2 separate regions of the Homo sapiens genome follow, and region 2 is linked to region 1. The links are contacts of gene promoters, found by promoter capture Hi-C in blood cells and fetal thymus (Javierre and others, 2016). All regions are on one chromosome and are shown on one strand. The core of a region is centred on a gene start or on the middle of the fragment in contact, and the rest is flanking DNA. Distances in the headings are between cores, read along the strand shown.

Evidence for each region. Contacts are between HindIII fragments. The CHiCAGO score rates a contact against its expected background, and 5 or more counts as called.
Region 2: a contact is called between a fragment that was not itself captured here and the fragment with the promoter of FRY-AS1 in region 1, in 1 of 17 cell types (naive B cells). The highest score is 6.4, in naive B cells.

What each region holds. Positions count from the first base shown.
Region 1 is chr13:32,029,632-32,034,058 of GRCh38, forward strand. FRY-AS1 (FRY antisense RNA 1) reads right to left here and starts at 2,008. Exons shown (of 4, transcript NR_103839.1): 1 at 1,820-2,008. It overlaps FRY (FRY microtubule binding protein), which reads left to right and starts at 2,143. Exons shown (of 61, transcript NM_023037.3): 1 at 2,143-2,234. The coding sequence starts at 2,165. The HindIII fragment of the contact is 3,062 bases long and covers 1,160-4,221 here.
Region 2 is chr13:35,168,129-35,172,555 of GRCh38, forward strand. NBEA (neurobeachin) reads left to right here. Exons shown (of 59, transcript NM_001385012.1): 25 at 859-867; 26 at 3,144-3,324. Among named protein-coding and RNA genes, the nearest start is that of NBEA, 230 kb to the left of the region's middle. The HindIII fragment of the contact is 4,581 bases long and covers 373-4,427 here.

The sequences.
Region 1 (4,427 bases), core at 758-3,257:
CCGGGAGGCAGAGGTTGCAGTGAGCCAAGATTGCACCACTGCATTCCAGCCCAGGCGACAGAGTGAGATTGTCTCAAAAAAAAAAAAAAAAAAAAAATCAATGTAGCTAAAATTTAATGAAGTGTTAACTATGGGCAAGATACTATGCTGAGCCCCTTTCATACATAGTGTTATTTATTGTTTCCAACAACTATAGGAAGAAGGTACAACCCCATTTTACAGATGAGGAAACGAAGGCTTAGCAAAGTTAATAGCTTACTTTGGGGCTCAAAGCTAGTAAGGGCTGGTGCCAGGAGCGAACATGGGGCCCTGCCTTGAGAGCCCATGCCATCGTTAATCGCAGGGCACTGTGCAGCCTACCTGTTCATTCACTGCCATCTGAGTCTTGGCAAGCATCAGATGGGCGTAGGTATGAAATTTATTTTCAGATATAATAATTGTTTCAAGGTAAAACCTTTGGGTCTTATTTTACCTAGAATCCATACATTCAAAGTACAAGTGATAAAATCAGTTCAGCAACTCTAGTATGCACATGAATTAAAAAGAAGTCAATCTGGTGAGAGATTTCATCAGAATAAAGTGTATAAGTGGAGTTGGAAATCTGAGTGATTGAGTGCTTGCCATTTGGGTAAGTGTAATGAGTTTGAAAAACTAATTGTATTGATGAAGTATCTTAGGGCCTTTCAGAACATAGTTCTAGAAGTTTTATTTAGTGTTGAATTTTAAAAATTCTTTGTCCTAACAATAAAAGTACATTGTAGTCTTTCCCTTCCATTTTTAAAATGAACTGTTAATCTAGGAAGTCCTGTTTGTGTGTTGATTTGGGGAGTTAGCCCAACATTTGCTATGTTAAATACTTATTAACATGGTTTATTACTTTTTTCTGTTTTTTAGACAACATTAATCATGAATGTACTGGGACTTGGGAAGGATCCTGTGGTTTATGAGATAGTTGGCCAAATCCCACCTCTTCCAACATAACCTGTCATTATTAAAATATAATACTCTTATTTAATCCCCTGGTCAAGCTAAATGATAATGTGAAACAAAGCTAACCAAAATCAGGACACCTGATATCAAGAATTCATGAAATCAAGAGCCATTGTAGAGCAAGGAATCTAATGCTTTTGCTTCTTATCCTTTTCATACAAATAAAATAAGCTTCACTGGGCTTAGTGAGTCTTAGAAATGAGAGGTTTGAGAATAAGATCCATTGTGGAGTGTGTGACATTACAAAAACAAGCCAACTAAGCAGTGTGTACTGTCCCCTTAGAGTGCACACGTTCGGGCTCCGATGCCCCTTGAAAAGACTGCATTTCTGGGAGGGAAAAGTAAAAATGCAGATACCACCATGCGTGTGGAAGGCAGGGAAGAAAAAGCCCAGACAAGCGTCCTCTTGTTGAGTCTCTTTACTGCAACGAGGCTGACGGATGGGGTTTTTCAAAACGTCGCTGCAACCAGATGCAAGGCTGCAGCTTTGCTTACCGCAGCGTGCTGCAGTTGTGTTTATTTCAGGGACAGACACAAGGGGAAGCAGCAGCCAGAGCACACCCGGGCCGCTCACGGGAAGCCTTGCTGAAGAGAGAGGATCCGCAGAAGCTGGGAAATTCCTCCCGCAGCCTAGGCGGAGACTGAGCCGCGGCTCAGGTTGAGACAGTGGGCAGGGGCAGGGGGCGGCGCTCCCGGCCCATCCCTTAGCCCCGCGGCGGCCGTGTGGGCCGGAGGCTGCCTGCACCGCGTCAGGGAGGCCGGCCTAGAAACCCTCCCTCCCAGAAGAAAGCCGATCCCAGTTCAGGTGGGGTCTTCCTCGGTTGCGTACCTGGCTGGAGCCGAGCTGGTGGGCGGCCGGCAGCCGGCGTTTCTGGTGATGACAGCCCCGAAATGAAAGCAGCGCGGCCGCCGCCTCCGAGGGCTGCAGGGAGATCAGCGTCCAGCAAATAAGAAGCAAGTCCTGGACCCGGAGGAGGAGGAGCGGCCGAGCATCTCTCTCTGCTCCGCCGTGTCCTTTAGATGAGCACTCCCGGCCGGAGCCGGAGGTGGATCCGCAGAGCTGCCTCTGGGCGCCTGACCCCGCGCTGACATCACAACCTGTGACAGGCGCATCACGCCCGGTACCTGCTCCCGGCCGCTGCCCGTCCTCCCAGCCTCTTTGTATGCCGCAGACATGGCCAGCCAGCAGGATTCGGGCTTCTTTGAGATCAGTATCAAATATTTACTGAAATCCTGGAGTAATAGTGAGTAATAGAAAATAACCTTTTTGTTTGTTTGTTTGCTGGATGTTGCATAAGGCTGGAGACAGAAAATCTCAACTGGACACATATGTTTGTGAGCCGCGGAAGTTTTTCTTTTTTTCTTTTCTTTTCTTTTCTCTTTCTTTCTTTCTTTCTTTCTTTTTCTTTCTTTCTTTCTTTCTTTTTTTGCTCCCATCTGCTGTGAAAATCAAAATGTCAGAGACTGAACTAGCTTTCCTTAAGTGCAAAGGCTGCAATGGAATTACAGTAGATTGTGTTTGATTAAATTTTCAAGTGAGGCAGCCCTTCAGACTCTGGGGGAGCTCAGGATCAGGCATTCCTGGCTGCATTTCCTGCCTTGATGTTTATTTGATTTGTTCAGGCTTTCTCTAAATATTTTGTGAAGTGTGATTTAATCAAAGGGGTGTGGCAGGGTTTCAGAGTACTTTGTAATTGTTTTTTTAGGGTATTGTCTGAAGAAAGAAAAGTATTTAATAGTCCAAAACCTAGGACATCCTTTTTGTATATAGAGGCATCTGCAGATTTATTTCATCTCTCCCTCTTCCATGTGGATGATGTTCTGAATGCCATTTAATATTTGAATTTTTAAAAATCCTGATGTTTGCTATAGTCCAAATATTGTGCTTTTTTGAAACATAAACAAGTGAGGTTCTGACCCTAATTATTTATTAGGATAGCAGAATATGATGGCTCCTGAAGTTCCATTTCTGACCTACATAAGGATTTTAGCAATACGCTATTTCAAAAAGACAACCTCTAAGCTGCCGTGGATCTGGAATCAAATTAAAATGAGGCCTTCAGGTGATCAATGATGCCTTGTATTTTCCGAACTGTTTAAAAAGAAAGTCTTCTCTATTTCACTAACAGCCTTTGTACTTGCTTTGGATAAAAGATCAGCAGGTATTACTGATGCTTTATTGTTTTAAATAAAAAAATTTTTTCCCCGTGAAAATTTTAATATTGTATTATGTGCATACTGATTAACCTACCTGTGCTCAAAGAGCTAGTGATTAATTGTCTCCTACACAAATGACCTGTGGCCAAGATTGTTCTTATATAAACAAAACCTGGGCAGGAGAACCTGTGCTGCAATTGCTTTGAGGAAAAGAGCTAAAGTACCTTCAGCCTTAAGGTATTCAGGGATGTGCATCTCTAAATGATATCCATAGAAACCATTTTTTCCAGGTCATTTTGCACCACTGTATACACTATGGGGCTTGTCTGAAGCTGTTTTTCTACAAGTGGGAAGCCATTTGGGAGTAATACTGTTGCCCAAACAGCATTCTTTACTTGTCATAGCTATAAATCATTTAACTTGGACTCATTATTTTTATAATACTTTACACTCAAGGATGAATCTTCCTTTGTCTATCTGCTCTTTGATTAATGAAAAGAATTTGACATACAGTGTTCTTTATGGAGCAGTTTTCCAATAACTGAAAAAACTCACTTTTGAGTTGACATCAGTACGTGGTTTTTAAACATATTTGATTATTCCAAGACCAGACTGTTTTCTTCCATCAATTTTTGTCATTGCATCATTAAATAGAAAATTATGTTGTGACAATACTGAGGCCAATGGGATTTCTTTTAAAAATTTCTCTCCCCTTGTCTATTTTCAAATCACTCTAGATAAAGTATATATTCTCTCCACCCTTCCTAAACTCCTCTCCCCACATACATACTTCAGGAAATGATTCAAAATGACTGTTCATTTCTACTTTGAGAATATCTGTGATACAATTTTGAATTCTTCCAATTCATTCAGCAAATATTTATTGAATACCTACTATGTGCCAGGCTGTGGGGCTACACAAGGTGAATAAGACACAGTCCCTGCCCACTATATTAATTTTTTTATTTCAGAGTAGTGAAGTTGGTGGCTTTCCAGCATTCTTTTGAGGGGGAGAATGTTTTTCAGTCCTTTCTTGAAAGAGGAAGAGGAAATATACTTTGTTTATCTTCTTTAAGCTTGTTACAACACTAACCTGCTTACAATCTAGCATAGTTCTCATTGCTAAGTTTTACATATTTTGAGCAGCAAAGAGAGAAAGGAATTTGTCTGTGTAGAAGGCAAAGTAGAAACAGAAGCCCTAAGGCTCAACATACTCAGTGTAACCTTGGCTGAGAGGATGCACCATGAGGCAAGCGGCTAATTGCACCTGCATGCACCTG
Region 2 (4,427 bases), core at 1,413-3,912, 3.1 Mb after region 1:
TTTGTTTATGTCATAGGACTGATCATACTTTACTATTCTCAGGATGCTTTTATATGTTTTCCTATACAATGTACCATGAAAATAGCATATTTTAAGATTTATACTCACATGTACTTGTCAAAAATTAGAAAGAATAGTTGATGATTTTTATTGTGAAAACTAATTCTATCTGATATTTGAATATAATGAATATAATTATTAATGTAATAAGAATCTTAAACTTAGTATAATACCTATTTAATTACCTTTATTCATATTCAGGCCTCATTTAGTATATCAAGTTATTTTCTAGCATGGAAAAGTGGTTTATAAGTTATAATCTCTCAAATATTTTGTTATTTTATTAACTTCTCAGAATTTTCAACTATAGGAAGCTTTCTGTATATTTGAGAATACAAATTACATTATTTCCTTATAGAAAATTCTAGAGGTTGGTATAAATAGTTCATTTCCCTGAGTCATTTCTGCCTAAACCAGAATTGAGGTAGGGATTTTGCAGAGGCATTATGTTAGCTTATTTATTAAAATGTTCCATTAATTATAGGAAAAGATACTTGTTTTGTAAAATAGAGTATGCATTATTTCTAATATATGAACTATACTTATATATATTATTTGGGCAGAGTTACTACAATAAAAATAAGTTGAAGTCTAAATATTTGATATTTAACCTTGATCATGTATAATTTATAAAATGAAAATCTCTTCTGAGAATTTTGCTTTTAATAAAATAATCAAATATAATTTTTAAATATATTATTTTGTGTTTCAATTTTACATTGTATTTTCATTTAATTTAATAATTTCCTTTTCTTGTACTTTTTGGTCTGTTGTCTGTTTTGTCTAATGCATGTCCAGGGTTCTAAGGTTAGTATTACTTTTGTAGTAATTTTCAGCTTTCAGTTTCAAGTTTTATTTTTACTTATTTATGAAATTTTTGACTTGGTTATATTTTGAGTTTTCATATCATCTTTAACATGAGACATATCTTTTGTATATTTAAAAGAGTCATTGAAAGGATTATTTTCCCAATGCATTGATGTATTACTATTTTATTATGCACAATAATCCCTAGATTAAACTATCATATTGAACACAATGGTGTTACAGTCATATGTACAATCAGATTTTAATTGGTTCTAAGGAAAGTAAATTGGATGAAATATATTATTTTAAGATTTAATAATTGTATGAGAGTGATCTTTATTTTTTAGCCCTATCTTTTGATGCTTACATACTTCATTTTTTAAATTACTTTTATATAAAATGGAATACAAATTCTCTTTTAGACTGTTGTGTTGAAAGTGCCTTCTACTCTAAAATTTAATTTTTTCAGTCAAAAAAACACTTTGATGGATTATATGGACACCTTAATAATTCTATTTATAATTCACTCATTTTAAAATGAAAGCATAGTTTGACAGGTCAAAACACTCAAAACCATTAAATAATGAATATAGAGAGATAGCTATCTGCAATTTCAGTGATTCAAAATGATGAAGAATTTGTGAACACAGATCTAGATATTCTAAATTCTAACATTTGAAAAATTATTTATAGTATTTGATAGACCTAAGAAATGGCCAAGTTCTTCATTCCTTTATAGAACATTTTAAATTGAAAACAGATTTAAAATGAATTTTTTGCTCTTTCTTATGAGCTATGATGTCATGGTCATAGATTTTTAATTGATATTATGAAGTGATGCTGTATATTCATGAAGTGCTAAGAAGTAAAGAATCTGCATTTTAAAATCCAAGTAATGAATTAATCATTTCTTTATGCCATGTGTACTGAATTGGCATAATGTTGTAACAACTGAAAACACATTTCTGTCTCTTTCCAGGCTCATTTTAGAGAGAATGGTTTTAACCCTATTTTGCTGTTAAATGGAAGGAGGAATGGTTGTTACATTTTATACATCATTTAAAACTGAGCTTAGTTATATAATGCTTGTAGTAGCCACCTATCCTTTTTATTACCCACTTTGTGCACAAGAAATGTTTTGAGTATTTTGAGTTCTTTTTTCAGTGTTTTCTGCTCACGTTTCCATGTTAATGCTCCTGCTTCTTCCAAGCAGGAAGAAGTTTAGGTATAATGATGGCTATAAACAGTGTCAAAATGGAACATTAAATAGGAATAGATACCTATTACATATGCTAACCTTGTAGTTGAATTTATCATTTGGTTAAGAGTTAATATTGATTGGAATGGCTAGTGTGTCCATTTTCAGAAAATTTAAATAATTTTTTTTTACTTATGAAGTATTCCCTTCCTTGGTTCCTTGAGGCACTGATAAAATGAGGCCTAGTCCTAAGGAACAAAAATAATTAAAATGCTGTATAGTCCATGGTGCAAAACAAAATAAGAAATGTTGACATTGTTTAAAAAACCATAAAGTTGTGCATTTTAAGAAACACAATGCTTTGTAATATTCCCTCTGAAATCAGAAATGTAGTGAAAGTACAGTTTTCCAATCTAGAATGCTATGATTCTTTTTATTACTAGTGTTTTATAAGTCACGAATTAAATATCTATAGATGAGTTAGCGATCTTGATTATTTTTACCCTAGAGTTTTATCGTACATGTAAAGTACCTAGTAGTTTCAGTTTATTCTAAAATGGATAAGAAATTGTTATGCATTCTAATTTGACAGCCATCTCATTTTGATACTAAGTTAAATTACCATGTATTTTCCCTATTATTCATCATACATCTATAGGAAAGAAAAATCAAAGCATATATTTTTATTAATGGGAATGAAGATTTTAGAAAAGAAATATCAATTTAAAATCTTTATAAATTACAAAACAAAACTAGTATAAGTACATATATGTGGTTCTGTCTAAATATCTTTGTGAAATGATCTTAAGTTTAGGATGTCATTTTTATAACTAAAGACATTTAAAACTAATGTTGATTTTAAAATGGGCTTTTCCTTTATTCAAGGATAATTGATAGGTAAAGTAACCGAATTTGGTAACCAGCTCTGGTGATATATGGAATTAGTTGAACATTTATTTTATTTATAAAATATGGTAAATATACTAAATTTATGTTCACTTGTAGTATGTATGTATATGTATTATATTTCCAAATTTCCAAATTTTAAACAAGACTTAAATCTTCTACTTTTTTAAAGACGGAATTGGAAAATATTGAAGTGACACAAGGCATGTCAGCTGAGACAGCAGTAACTTTCCTCAGCCGGCTGATGGCTATGGTTGATGTACTTGTGTTTGCAAGCTCTCTAAATTTTAGTGAGATTGAAGCTGAGAAAAACATGTCTTCTGGAGGTTTAATGCGACAGTGCCTAAGATTAGGTAAGTCTGTTAAAACAATAGTGCATGTCAAATAATTATCTACAGAGCAGCTTTATAAAGCACTATGGTACATAAAATATTAATGATATAAGTTGATGATTATATAATATGGAGATTATCTTGAGATACAGAGATTATTTTTATAATTAATCAGAATTACTAAATTTTAAAAAATTATGCCTTCACATTGGAGATTTCACAGAACTGATCATCTTTAATGGTTCATAGTTTGAAATCAAGAGTGAAATATACTTGGAATTCTTTCAAAATCAGTAAGACTAACATTTGTCATTGAAGTGATTTTTAATGCAAATCCATTTATGAATCCAATTTTGGTAAACCAATACTGAGGGTAGTGTCCTGGCCTCACAAACATGTCAGATACACATAATGCTAGAAGGTTAAAATAAACTATCCCAATCTTACTGTTTCTTGGGGTGAACAAATGTCCCTAATAAATATTGTTATACCCATGCTGTTCACCTTTTATCTGTGTGGCAGTGAAACTTTAGCACTGAAACCTCTTAGTAAATCTGAATGAATTCTTTAGATAAGAACCATTTCTACCTCTCTTAAAAGGAACATTTATTTACACTATTTAGACTTTCAAAACCAGAAAACTGCTGTTTTTGTACTTGCCTTAGATCATGAGCAGGACATAAGAACTGCAAGGCATGAAATAGGAAGGACGTTCCTGATATGTACTGTTTTCACCCATAACTTTTAAAGATTATGTCAAAAATTCCTTTCTGATTCAAGAAAGGAACAAAGACTTGGTTTAAGAATGGTGGGATGAAACCTTTTTTTGTTTGTTTGTTTCGTATTATTTATTTAAAGACAGGCAAGCTGAGAGGAATCATTTTGTATTCATTATAAGAGAAAGATTGACCACATTAAGATCTTTCTGGCAACCAAGAGGTGTGGGTTAACTGACGGTGGGCCATTAAAGACATTTCCATTGACATATAACAAGAGCTGTCAAATGAACTGTGTGAGAAAGAGATATATATATATATTTTTAAAATGGCTCAATATCTTGAAACCTGCATTTATTTGGTTATTCTGTACTTTTATTTTTAAATATAGTCCAAGACTTTACTCCC